Regions from separate parts of the Homo sapiens genome. Here all the other regions are linked to region 1. The links are contacts of gene promoters, found by promoter capture Hi-C in human tissues and cell types (Jung and others, 2019). All regions are on one chromosome and are shown on one strand. Each heading gives the region's core, a stretch centred on a gene start or on the middle of the fragment in contact. The rest is flanking DNA. Distances are from core to core; before and after follow the strand shown. Region 1 holds the start of SCAP (SREBF chaperone). Region 2 overlaps ZNF589 (zinc finger protein 589). Region 3 overlaps CDC25A (cell division cycle 25A).

Region 1 (3,660 bases), core at 857-3,356:
TTCATGCCCAAGGTTTCTGAGGGGACAAATGATGGTATTTCAAGGGATCAGACCTGGAGAGAGTGATGTCAGGATAGGTAAGGGGTGTAGGTAAGTTCCCCTGAATGCTCTCTATTGTTGCTTCTCTCTCATTTAATACAACAAACAGGATGGGCACGGTGGCTCATGCCTGTAATCCTAGCAGTTTGGGAGGCCAACATGGGAAGGCTGCTTGAGCCCAGGAGTTTGAGACCAGCCTGGGCAACACAGCAAAAGACCCCATCTTGATAAAAATAACAAAAACAAAAATGGCATGGTGGCGCTCATCTGTAGTCCTACCTTCTTGGGAGGATCACTTGAGCCCAGGAGGTTGAGGCTGCAGTGAGCTATGACCACACCACTGCACTCCAGCCTGGGTAAAGGAGTGAGACCTCAAATGTAAAAATAAAAATAACCTAAAAAATTCTTTCTTTCTTTTTTTTTTTCTTTTTTTTTTTGAGACGGAGTCTCGCTCTGTCGCCCAAGCTGGAGTGCAGTGGCATGATCTCGGCTCACTGCAAGCTCTGCCCCCCGGGTTCATGCCATTCTCCTGCTTCAGCCTCCCGAGTAGCTGGGACTACAGGCACCTGCCACCACGCCCGGCTAATTTTTTTTTTGTTTGTTTTGTATTTTTAGTAGAGATGGGGTTCCACCGTGTTAGCCAGGATGGTTTCGATCTCCTGACCTCATGATCTGCCCGTGTTGGCCTCCCAAAGTGCTGGGATTACAGGCGTGAGCCACCGCGCCCAGCGAATACTTTCTTTATAGGATCAAAATTCCCATATTAAGCCAAAAGACAATGCTGAAAATGTCATAACCCTGAAAGTCACTTTGGGCCAAGGCCCACTGTCCCCATTGTTACTTTCATTGTGACAATAGTGTGGTGGGCAAGGAGGGAGGCCAGAGTCCGGTGGGAACTGGGTTTTAGGAGGAGGTATCTGAAGAATGTGTAGTGGGTCGGGGGCTGGTGCGGTCAGAAGGGCCACCTCTAATTTCTGCCTTGCATTGGTGACTAGATCTGCACTTTCTGGAACTCCCAGAGAAGTTTGCTGGTGCCTTTGAGGGCAGGTACAGGGCCTGCCTTATCCAGGTAGCCCTGGGGTGGGTGCGGGTGTCTCGGGCAGTAGGCAGGGGCTGAGGGGAGGCTTACCTCTGACACAAGACCTGGGTACAGCAAGGGCATGCAGTAGCATGATCAAAGTCCCCCCAGAGTGGTCCGGGCAGCGTCTCTAGTTGGGCCAGAGCTGGGCAGGTGGGGACCTGTGTTTCCCTCGAGGGGAGGCAGCCTCCCCTTCCCCTTCTGTGAGGCCCTGTAACAAGACCTACCTCGGATTTTCAGGAGGGCCAAATGCGAGGACATGTACAATACCAGCTCCGCAACTGACACCTAGTAAACAGTGAACGTAGCTGTTGCTATTATAACAAATACCTGTTCCCTGTGGAAAATGGTTAAATGTCAACTTATGCTTTTAAATGTCTATAGGGAAACTAGTTTTATGGACATTATTTATTCTTCTCATCTGCATTTGCAGTGTATCTCGGCCCAGCTGCTTCTAATTTTTTGCCATTATAAAACAGGGAACATGAGCATCTTGTGCAGGGTGGGTTTTTTGTTTTTTGTCTCACTGTGGCCTCGACCTCCCGGGCTCAGGTGATCCTCCTACCTCAGCCTCCTGAGTAGCTGGGACCACAGGTGCGCGCCACCACAGCCGGCTAATTAATTTTACTTGTGGAGACGGAGGTCTCCTACGTTGCCCAAGTTGGTCTCTAACTCCTCGGCTCAAGCGATCTTCGCGCCTTGGACTCCCACAGTGTTGGGATTACAACCGCGAGCCACCGTGCCCGGCTTTCTGCAAGTTCTTGATGACCGATGAGAGCCGGTGGGCCCAAACCCGGCGGGCCCTAACCCGGCTTCACGCTCCGCCCGGCCCGGCCCGGCCCGGCCGTCCATACTTCCCTCCGGTGTCCACCAGAGGGCGAACGGGAGACGCGAATGTGGTTCGACTACGCATGCGCACGCCGCTGGGCGCACGTGCGGAGGGCGGCGGGGCGGGAGGGTAAAGGTAGGAGGTGAGAGGTGAAGGGGCGGGCACCCGGCGGCCAGGAGAGAGAGGGAGGGCGCCACGCACCGGACTGCGGGCCGAGAGCGCGCACGCCGCGCTCCGCCCCTGCTGCCGCCCCCGTCGCCGCCGCCGCCGCCGCCGCAGCTTGGGAGGTGCTGCCACCACAGGTACCGTCACGCGGGTGCTCAGGGCGCCTGCCCGCGGGCCCCAGCTCGACCCCAGCCGCGTGGAGCTGGGAGTTCCGGAATGGGGGCCGCTAGGTTCGGGGGTGCGTGGGCATGGCGCTGTCCAGCAGCCGTGCGGGCCGGCCCTGGAGACCGCAGGCCGGCAAGGAGGCAGGGCCGCGCGTCCCCACCCCCAACCCGGCCGTGTCCCTGCACCGGCCGGCCCCTGGAGCTCCGCGTCCCCACCAGACCTCCGCGGGCCCCTGGTGTGACGGGGGGAGATGCGCGGCGTCGCATCCCCTGGCCTAGTTGCTCCGGGAAGCTGTTGTAGAACCTGCTTTGGTGCTGTTTGGGTTTTCCGGAGTGCGGGGGAGAGCAGGTTCTCCACTTTGCCTCTTTTGGAAGATCTTATTGAGAGACAACGCTAGTTGCTTTGCTGGTTTTGCTTGGTTTCTAGTTTTCCGTATTGCTTAAACCTCAACTTTGCTCACTAATGTTGCTTCTGTTTACTTCTGAGTGGGTTTATGACCTCAGTATTTAACCGGCTTATAATGTCACGATAGCGTTAGTTGCAGGGAGCCCTGGCTCCGGACTGTTTGAATCACAGAAAGTTGTGCAGATGGGAATGCGGAGGGGGGGGCAGTGAGTCGCTGTGGGGGCTCTGGCAGGGGTCAGCCCCTGGTTCGGGTCACTCACTGCTCCACCTTGTATGGCGACAGTCGGAGCTAGGTGAATAAACTCTTTCTGGGGATTTTGTAATACTTATCGTGAAGCGGCCATAGAAAAGGTTTAATGTTAGCGTTGCGTGTGTTTCTTTTATTTGGCCAAAAATTTGTGGAGTTTGGTTATGCCGTGTCTTTATTGGTTTGCTGTCAGGTCAGGATATTGAGCAAAAGACTGACGCTTTTATTAGGGAGTCAGGGTCGAGGGTGTCTAGTTAGTGCTGTATCCATTTTAGGTGTTCCTCAGTGATGCCTAAAGACTTGTTTTTTGTTTGTTTGTTTGGAGACAGGGTCTCACTCTGTCTCCCAGGCTGGAGTGCAGTGGCGCGATCTCGGCTCACTGCAGCCTTGATTTCCTGGGCTCAGGTGATCCTCCCACCTCAGCCTCCCCAGTAGCTGGGACAGCAGGTGTGTGCCACCACGCCCGGCTAATTTTTGTATTTTTTTGTAGAGATGGGGGTCTTGCTGTGTTGCCCAGGCTGGTCTTTAACTCCTGGGCTCAAGCATTATACAAGCCTTGGCCTCCCAAAGTGTTGGTATTACAGGCGTGAACCACCGTGCCCGGCCAAGACCTGTATCTTTTAAAATGTGTGTTAATATAGTTTACATTTTAGGTGTTTTACACATTTGCAGTATTCCCACTGAGCACATGATGTAAAAAACACTATATAAATATATTTAACACTGTATAAA
Region 2 (3,660 bases), core at 498-2,997, 800 kb before region 1:
CAACCCCTCATATTAGGGATCTCCTGCCTATTTGGGGGGTTCCTTCTGGCTCAACCCCTCGTATTAGGGGTCTCTTGCCTGTCCTTCACTGGAAGCTTTGCTAAGGCACAATTCGCCTATCCTTTAGCTCCACCTGCTGGAGATTCCTTGCACCCTTCTTTCACTGCAACCTTCACGCTCTGGCCGCTTCCCTTGAGGGAATGTTCCAGGTCACTTTTAGCATTCATGGGGGGTCAGTATAAACCCCTGACGGGACCCCCAAAGGGCCGCCCTAAGCCATATGAGATGACCACGGAACTGCAGATTGGTCTCACTCCGCACAGCAGTAGTGCTTGTTACCATTCATGCACTTTCAACCTCCAGAATGCCCCGACCCCCGCAAAACCACTAAAGAAGTAATTTGTTGCCCCTGCGACGTTTTCTACCTTGGTCTGTGCAGTTTACCTGGTCGCCGCAGTATTGCAAGTCTCTCTTCCCCGCGTTGCTGAGAGTCCAGGTTTATTCGTCACAACAGGTGGGTCTCGATCTCCCATCCCTGAGGGCCACCGCAACAGGGCAGTGGGAAGTGTCTCCCCTGGGTAGGGTGACTGAAGACCCCTTCCCGAAGGAGAATGGGAATCCCAGACGAGCCCCCAGAATTGTTGGATATAAAATGCTCTAGGATGAAATGCTCGGTGCCATGAAGTAAAACCAGCACTCAGGCAAAAGTTTAATTTCTCTCAGCAAGGTAATTTACTTCTGCGGAACGGTGCCACTTGTGTCAATCAAGATCACAAGAGCACAGAGAACAAAGGAGACCAGGGGATTTTTATCCTTAACACAGTCCCTATCTCTGTGTCACTCCCCCCATGGGCTGGGGTCAGACTGCACAATCTGAGCTGACCCAATTGGCCACTTGTACATATTTTCCTAACTATAGAAGGGGAGGGGGACATGAGTTACAGAGGTGGAGTGTGAGGCGTGCAGTTTCGGGGGAACAATGGGTACAGGTAACCAAGGGAACAGATGTGAATTATTGATTAAAGCTGACGAGAATGGGGTAGGCTGTTTACAGTAACTAGGGGTAAGGAAGAACAAGAAAGTTGAATTTGAGAACAAGGATAAGGAAGTTAGCAGGCTAAACCCTTTGAAGAGAGACTCAGATTTACTGCAGCTTACAATCTCTTCCTATGACTGCCTGGACCTGACAGTCCTCTTGCCGGACCAGATCTGTGTGGTATCTCGACAGTGCCTACATGGATTTTAATAGAAAATGAACACTTTTTTCTCCCTCTCATGTTTAAAGTAGATGTATGATCACTAATTTTTCCACTTTCATTTTTCTATGGGAGGAGTAACTTCGAGGTCTTGTGGAATGATGGTGTCCCACCCTTCCCCTGCCCAGCAACCCCTAAACACACACACATACACACACTTTCTATGGCTTTTAGCTCAGGCCATGGGAAAGGGGCAGCAATAGTGAGAGGTGACAACGTGTTAGCAGCCCTCGCTCACTCTCAGCGCCTCCCCGGCCTCAGCGTCCGCTCTGGCCACGCTTGAGGAGCCCTTTAGCCAGCCGCTGCACTGTGGGAGCCCCTCTCTGGGTTGGTCGAGGCCGGAGCCAGCTCCCTTGGCTGGCAGAGAGGTGTGGAGGGAGAGGCGCAGGTGGGAACCAGGGCTGCGCATGGGGCTCGCAGGCCAGCATGAGTTCCGGGTGGGCGCAGGCTCGGGGGCCCCCACACTCGGAGCGGCCGGCCGGCACCACAGGCCCCAGGCATTAAGGGGCTTAGCACCCGGGCCAGCAGCTGCAGAGGGTGCACCGGGTCCCCCAGCACTGACAGCCTGCCCACGCCGCACTTGAATTCTCACCGGGCCTCAGCCGCCTCCCCATGAGGCAGGGCTTGGGACCTGCGGCCTGCCATGCCCAAGCCACCCCCGACCGCCATGGGCTCGCATGCAGCCCGAGACTCCCCGACAGGCGCTGCCCGTCCCATCGACCGCCCAAGGGCTGAGGTGTGCAGGTGTGAGGCACAGGACTAGCAGGCAGCTCCACCCACAGCCCCAGTGCGGGATCCACTAGGGGAAGTCAGCTGGGCTCCTGAGTTGGGTGGGGTCTTGGAGAACTTTTGTCTAGCTGGAGGATTGTATATGCACCAAGCAGCACTCTCTGTCTAGCTCGGGGTTTGTGGATGCACCAATCAGCACTCTGTATCTAACTAACCTGGTGGGGACTTGGAAAACTTTTATGTCTAGCTAGAGGATTGTAAATGCACCAATCAGCACTCTGTGTCTAGCTCAAGGTTTGTAAACGCACCAATCAGTGCTCTGTGTCTAGCTAATCTAGCGGGGACTTGGAGAACTTGTGTCTAGCTAAAGGATTGTAAACGCACCAATCAGCACTGTGTCTAGCTAAAGGTTTGTAAACGCGTGTCTAGCTAATCTAGTGGGGACTTGGAAAATTTTTGTCTAGCTAGAGGCTTGTAAATGCACCAATCAGCACTCTGTGTCTAGCTCAGGGATTGTAAATGCACCAATCAGCACCCTGTCAAAACGGACCAATATGCTCTCTGTAAAATGGACCAATCAGCAGGATGTGGGTGGGGCCGGATAAGGGGATAAAAGCAGGCTACCCGAGCCAGCAGCGGCAAGCCACTCAGGTCCCCTTCCATGCTGTGGAAGCTTTGTTTTTTCACTCTTCACAATAAATCTTCCTGCTGGTCACTCTTTGGGTCCGCGCCGCCTTTAAGAGCTGTAACACTAACCGCAAAGGTCCGCAGCTTCACTCCTGAAACCAGCAAGACCACGAACCCACCGGAAGGAACTAACAACTCCAGATGCGCTGCCTTTAAGAGCCGTAACACTGCTAAGGTCTGCAGCTTCACTCCTAAGCGAGACCACAAACCCACCAGAAGTTAGAAACTCTGGACACGTCCGAACATCAGAAGGAACAAACTCCAGACACACCATGTTTAAGAATTGTAACACTCACCGTGAGGGTCCACGGCTTCATTCTTGAAGTCAGCAAGACCAAGAACCCACCAATTCCAGACACATTAGGGTGGTAGGCCAGGCATGGGGGAGATCCTACATTCCAGGTACCCCTAGCCCTTCCCCTAAGCAGGCTAACCTTGGGGATTCCCTGGAGATCAACCACTTCCAGTGAGAGGGAGTGGACAAAAGCCTCTGGACCAGCCATTCCTTCTCTCTCTCCAAGTCCTTTTTCCTCTCTAGCATCAAAACCAAGCCTAAGTATTTTGAGGTTACATGAACATCTCTCCCCTTCTTTTCTGTGGCAGAGTCCCTTAGCAAATAGAGGCACTGGGGCCTGAGTGGATAGCTCTCCAAGGTACACTCATTGACACAGGGTATCAGGTAGGGCTAGCCCCAGCCCAAGGGAGTAAGGCAAACTGTCAGAACCTGGGCCATATGGGCCCTGGAGTGTGAGGAGAGACAAATGGCTAAAGGCCCTGGCACCATTCCTGGATGTAATTTAGCCACCCGAGCATGGCTAAAACACTGGGTACTGAGATTGGAGGATTTAAGAGGAGCTGTGTTTAAAATACCCTTAAACCTGGTATTGGAAGGCTGATGATGCAGCATTGCTAGATCCCTGTCATTGAAGGCCAAGGTGGCGTGGCTATGTTTAAGTCCTGAGTCTGAAGAACTTTTAGAGTGTGGTTA
Region 3 (3,660 bases), core at 771-3,270, 680 kb before region 1:
CACTGTGTTGCCCAGGCTGGTCTCAAACTCCTGGGCTCAGGCAATCCTGGCCTCCCAAAGTGCTTGGATTACAGGTGTGAGCCGCCATGCCCAGCCCAAAAGATGCTATTCTCTTAATCTCTCATTTCCCCATCTTCCTCTTTAACACCTCTAATATAAAGGACATTATTATACCATATTGAAACTTCACCTAGATATACAGAAAACGCCCCATCTCTGTATTCTGTATTTGCAAGCTGCATGTTTATATCACCATCTACAGATACCCCTTACACTTCGTTCCCCACTTGAGTTTCGCCATCACTGGCTTTCTGTTGTTCCACTGGGGAAAGATTTGGGATTCACAGGTGAACTCTTTTTTTTTTTTTTTTTTTTTTTTGAGTTGGAATCTCGCCCTTTCGCCCAGGCTGGAATGCAGTGGCACAATCTCGGCTCACTGCAGCCTCCTCCTCCCGGGTTCAAGCATTTCTCTGCCTCAGCCTCCCAAGTAGCTGGGATTACAGGCACCTGCCACCACGCCCAGCTAATTTTTTGTAGTTTTAGTAGACACAGGGTTTCACTATCTTGGCCAGGCTGGTCTCGAACTCCTGACCTCGTGATCCACCGCCTCAGCCTCCCAAAGTGCTGGAATTACAGGTGTGAGCCACCGCGCCCAGCCAAACTCCTTTTAACCACAGGCAAATGGTTTAAGCTACGTGCTGCAGAGGAAGCTGCTGCCCATCCCTCATGAGCAGCTAACAAAGGCCCCAAACCACTGAGCTTCAAGAGAAAATCAGCAGATACTCTTGGCTCTTGTGTACCAGATACCTTTCTAGATACTGAGGGAGAAGAGCAGTGAACAAAACAGACCAAAAAATCTCTGCCTTCATGGAACTTACATTTCGGAGTGGACAGGAGATCGAGACCAGCCTGGCCAACATGGTGAAATCCCGTCTCTACTAAAAATACAAAAATTAGCCAGGCGTGGTGGCGGACACCTGTAATCCCAGCTACTTTGGAGGCTGAGGCAGGAGCATCCCTTGAACCCAGGAGGCAGAGGTTGCAGTGAGCCGAGATCGCGCCAGTGCACTCCAGCCTGGGCGACAGAGTGAGACTCCATCTCAAAAAAAAAAAAAAAAAGGTGACTGGGTGCGGTGGCTAACTCCTGTAATCCCAACACTTTGGGAGGCCAAGGCAGGTGGATCACAAGGTCAAGAGGTCGAGACCATCCTGGCCAACATGGTGAAGCCCCATCTCTACTAAACATACAAAAATCAGCTGGGCGGTGGCACGCGCCTGTAGTCCCAGCTATTTGGGAGGCTGAGGCAGGAGAATTGCTTGAACCCGGGAGACGGAGATTGCAGTGAGCCTGAGGTCACGCCCTTGCACTCCAGCCTGGTGACAGAGTGAGATTCTGTCTCAGAAAAAAGAAGGTGCTTCAGAGGAAAATAAGGCCAGTGGTGGAGCTCCCAGGCAGGCTGGAGGAACAGTAGTGGGGCTGCAGGGGCTGGCGTGGGGTGAACAAGGGGCAGAGCAGCAGTAGGGGCCTGTAGAGCTGTAGGCCTCTGAAGGACTTGGGGCCTCGGGCTTTTTCACCAAGGGCGAGGCAGTAAGCAGCCATTGGCTGGATATTGAAGACCATTCAGTCCAAGTAGAGGATAGAAACAGGGCCCCGAGGCAGGAGCAAGTTCAGCCTCTTTAAAAGCCACAGAAAGAAACAAGCCCACTTATGTAGAAGGAGGTGAGTGAGGGAGCCTGGCTGAAGAGAAGGCTGGGGTGGAGAAAGCAAGGGGAAGCTGGCTCATATAGTGAAAACTTGCCACAAACTGTGGTGGTGAAGGTGCTGGGCAGGACTCAGATGCTAGGATTGTTGGAGAAAGGAAAATTGGGGAAGAGACCATCTACTGGCACTGGCTGTGAGTGCTGCTCATGTGGCCAGGAACTTGCAACTCAGCACTGATTGTTTCTAAGAATAAATGTCAAGTTGGGAAGATGTGTATAAGGGGGACTTAGACCACAACTGCTGCTTTGACTGCGTTGCCTTGTTGCTGTGCTGGAAAAGCTAACCCTGCTTTGGCCTTCCTTCCCCTGACTAGGTGCCGGTATGTGAGAGAGAGAGATCGCCTGGGTAATGAATACCCCAAACTCCACTACCCTGAGCTGTATGTCCTGAAGGGGGGATACAAGGAGTTCTTTATGAAATGCCAGGTAAGACTGGGGTTGTGGAGAGCATCTCTCCTCCCCTGCCCCCAGTGGTAGACTAATGGATCTGTCTGGTGGTCATGACTTTCTTTCCAGGGGTCGGGGGACAAGGTGGGTATCTGCTGAACCCAAAGAAAGCCCCTGTAGAACTGGCTCCCTAGGTCTGCCTGGCCGCTTTCAGCCTTGTAGCCCTAGGCAGAGAGGAAACCAGGTTGTGGGTGTGAGGCAGGTGTACCCTAACCTTATTCTCTCCTGTCCCCTCAGTCTTACTGTGAGCCCCCTAGCTACCGGCCCATGCACCACGAGGACTTTAAAGAAGACCTGAAGAAGTTCCGCACCAAGAGCCGGACCTGGGCAGGGGAGAAGAGCAAGAGGGAGATGTACAGTCGTCTGAAGAAGCTCTGAGGGCGGCAGGACCAGCCAGCAGCAGCCCAAGCTTCCCTCCATCCCCCTTTACCCTCTTTGCTGCAGAGAAACTTAAGCAAAGGGGACAGCTGTGTGACATTTGGAGAGGGGGCCTGGGACTTCCATGCCTTAAACCTACCTCCCACACTCCCAAGGTTGGAGCCCAGGGCATCTTGCTGGCTACGCCTCTTCTGTCCCTGTTAGACGTCCTCCGTCCATATCAGAACTGTGCCACAATGCAGTTCTGAGCACCGTGTCAAGCTGCTCTGAGCCACAGTGGGATGAACCAGCCGGGGCCTTATCGGGCTCCAGCCATCTCATGAGGGGAGAGGAGACGGAGGGGAGTAGAGAAGTTACACAGAAATGCTGCTGGCCAAATAGCAAAGACAACCTGGGAAGGAAAGGTCTTTGTGGGATAATCCATATGTTTAATTTATTCAACTTCATCAATCACTTTATTTTATTTTTTTTTCTAACTCCTGGAGACTTATTTTACTGCTTCATTAGGTTGAAATACTGCCATTCTAGGTAGGGTTTTATTATCCCAGGGACTACCTCGGCTTTTAATTTAAAAAAAAAAAAGAAGTGGGTAAGAAAATGCAAACCTGTTATAAGTTATCGGACAGAAAGCTAGGTGCTCTGTCACCCCCAGGAGGCGCTGTGGTACTGGGGCTGCTGCTATTTAAGCCAAGAACTGAGGTCCTGGTGAGAGCGTTGGACCCAGGCTTGGCTGCCTGACATAAGCTAAATCTCCCAGACCCACCACTGGCTACCGATATCTATTTGGTGGGAGGTGTGGCCCTGTTCTTCCTCACCCCAGTTCCATGACATTGGCTGGTATAGGAGCCACAGTCAGGAAAGCACTTGAGGCAGCATCTGTTGGGCCACCCCCGGCTCAGTGCTGGAATGTTGCAGTGTAGGTTTCCCAGGGAAGGGGGGTGGGGGTAGGTGGGCTCCACAGGATGGGGGAGGAGCATGTCCACTGAGTATCTTCCTTATGTTGCTGTGATATTGATAGCTTTTATTTTCTAATTTTTAAAAAATGGTCATATTATGAGTCAAAGAGTATCAAAT

What was found. The method cuts DNA at HindIII sites, captures the fragments that hold promoters and counts their contacts. A contact is called where the count stands out against the background at its distance.
Region 2: a contact is called between a fragment that was not itself captured here and the fragment with the promoter of SCAP in region 1, in 1 of the 25 tissues and cell types used here (dorsolateral prefrontal cortex).
Region 3: a contact is called between a fragment that was not itself captured here and the fragment with the promoter of SCAP in region 1, in 1 of the 25 tissues and cell types used here (dorsolateral prefrontal cortex).

Annotation. Positions count from the first base shown.
Region 1 is chr3:47,474,387-47,478,046 of GRCh38, reverse strand. It overlaps SCAP (SREBF chaperone), which reads left to right and starts at 2,106. Exons shown (of 23, transcript NM_012235.4): 1 at 2,106-2,248. LOC105377073 (a long non-coding RNA gene) reads right to left here and starts at 2,102. Exons shown (of 3, transcript XR_940821.3): 1 at 1,683-2,102; 2 at 1,345-1,405. RefSeq lists a silencer at 2,019-2,558. The HindIII fragment of the contact is 11,347 bases long and covers 1-3,660 here.
Region 2 is chr3:48,270,278-48,273,937 of GRCh38, reverse strand. ZNF589 (zinc finger protein 589) reads right to left here. Exons shown (of 4, transcript NM_016089.3): 4 at 2,948-3,660. Among named protein-coding and RNA genes, the nearest start is that of NME6, 29 kb to the left of the region's middle. The HindIII fragment of the contact is 5,059 bases long and covers 1-3,660 here.
Region 3 is chr3:48,157,871-48,161,530 of GRCh38, reverse strand. CDC25A (cell division cycle 25A) reads left to right here. Exons shown (of 15, transcript NM_001789.3): 14 at 2,076-2,187; 15 at 2,446-3,660. The coding sequence ends at 2,586. It also overlaps the pseudogene SNRPFP4. Among named protein-coding and RNA genes, the nearest start is that of CDC25A, 29 kb to the left of the region's middle. The HindIII fragment of the contact is 7,323 bases long and covers 1-3,660 here.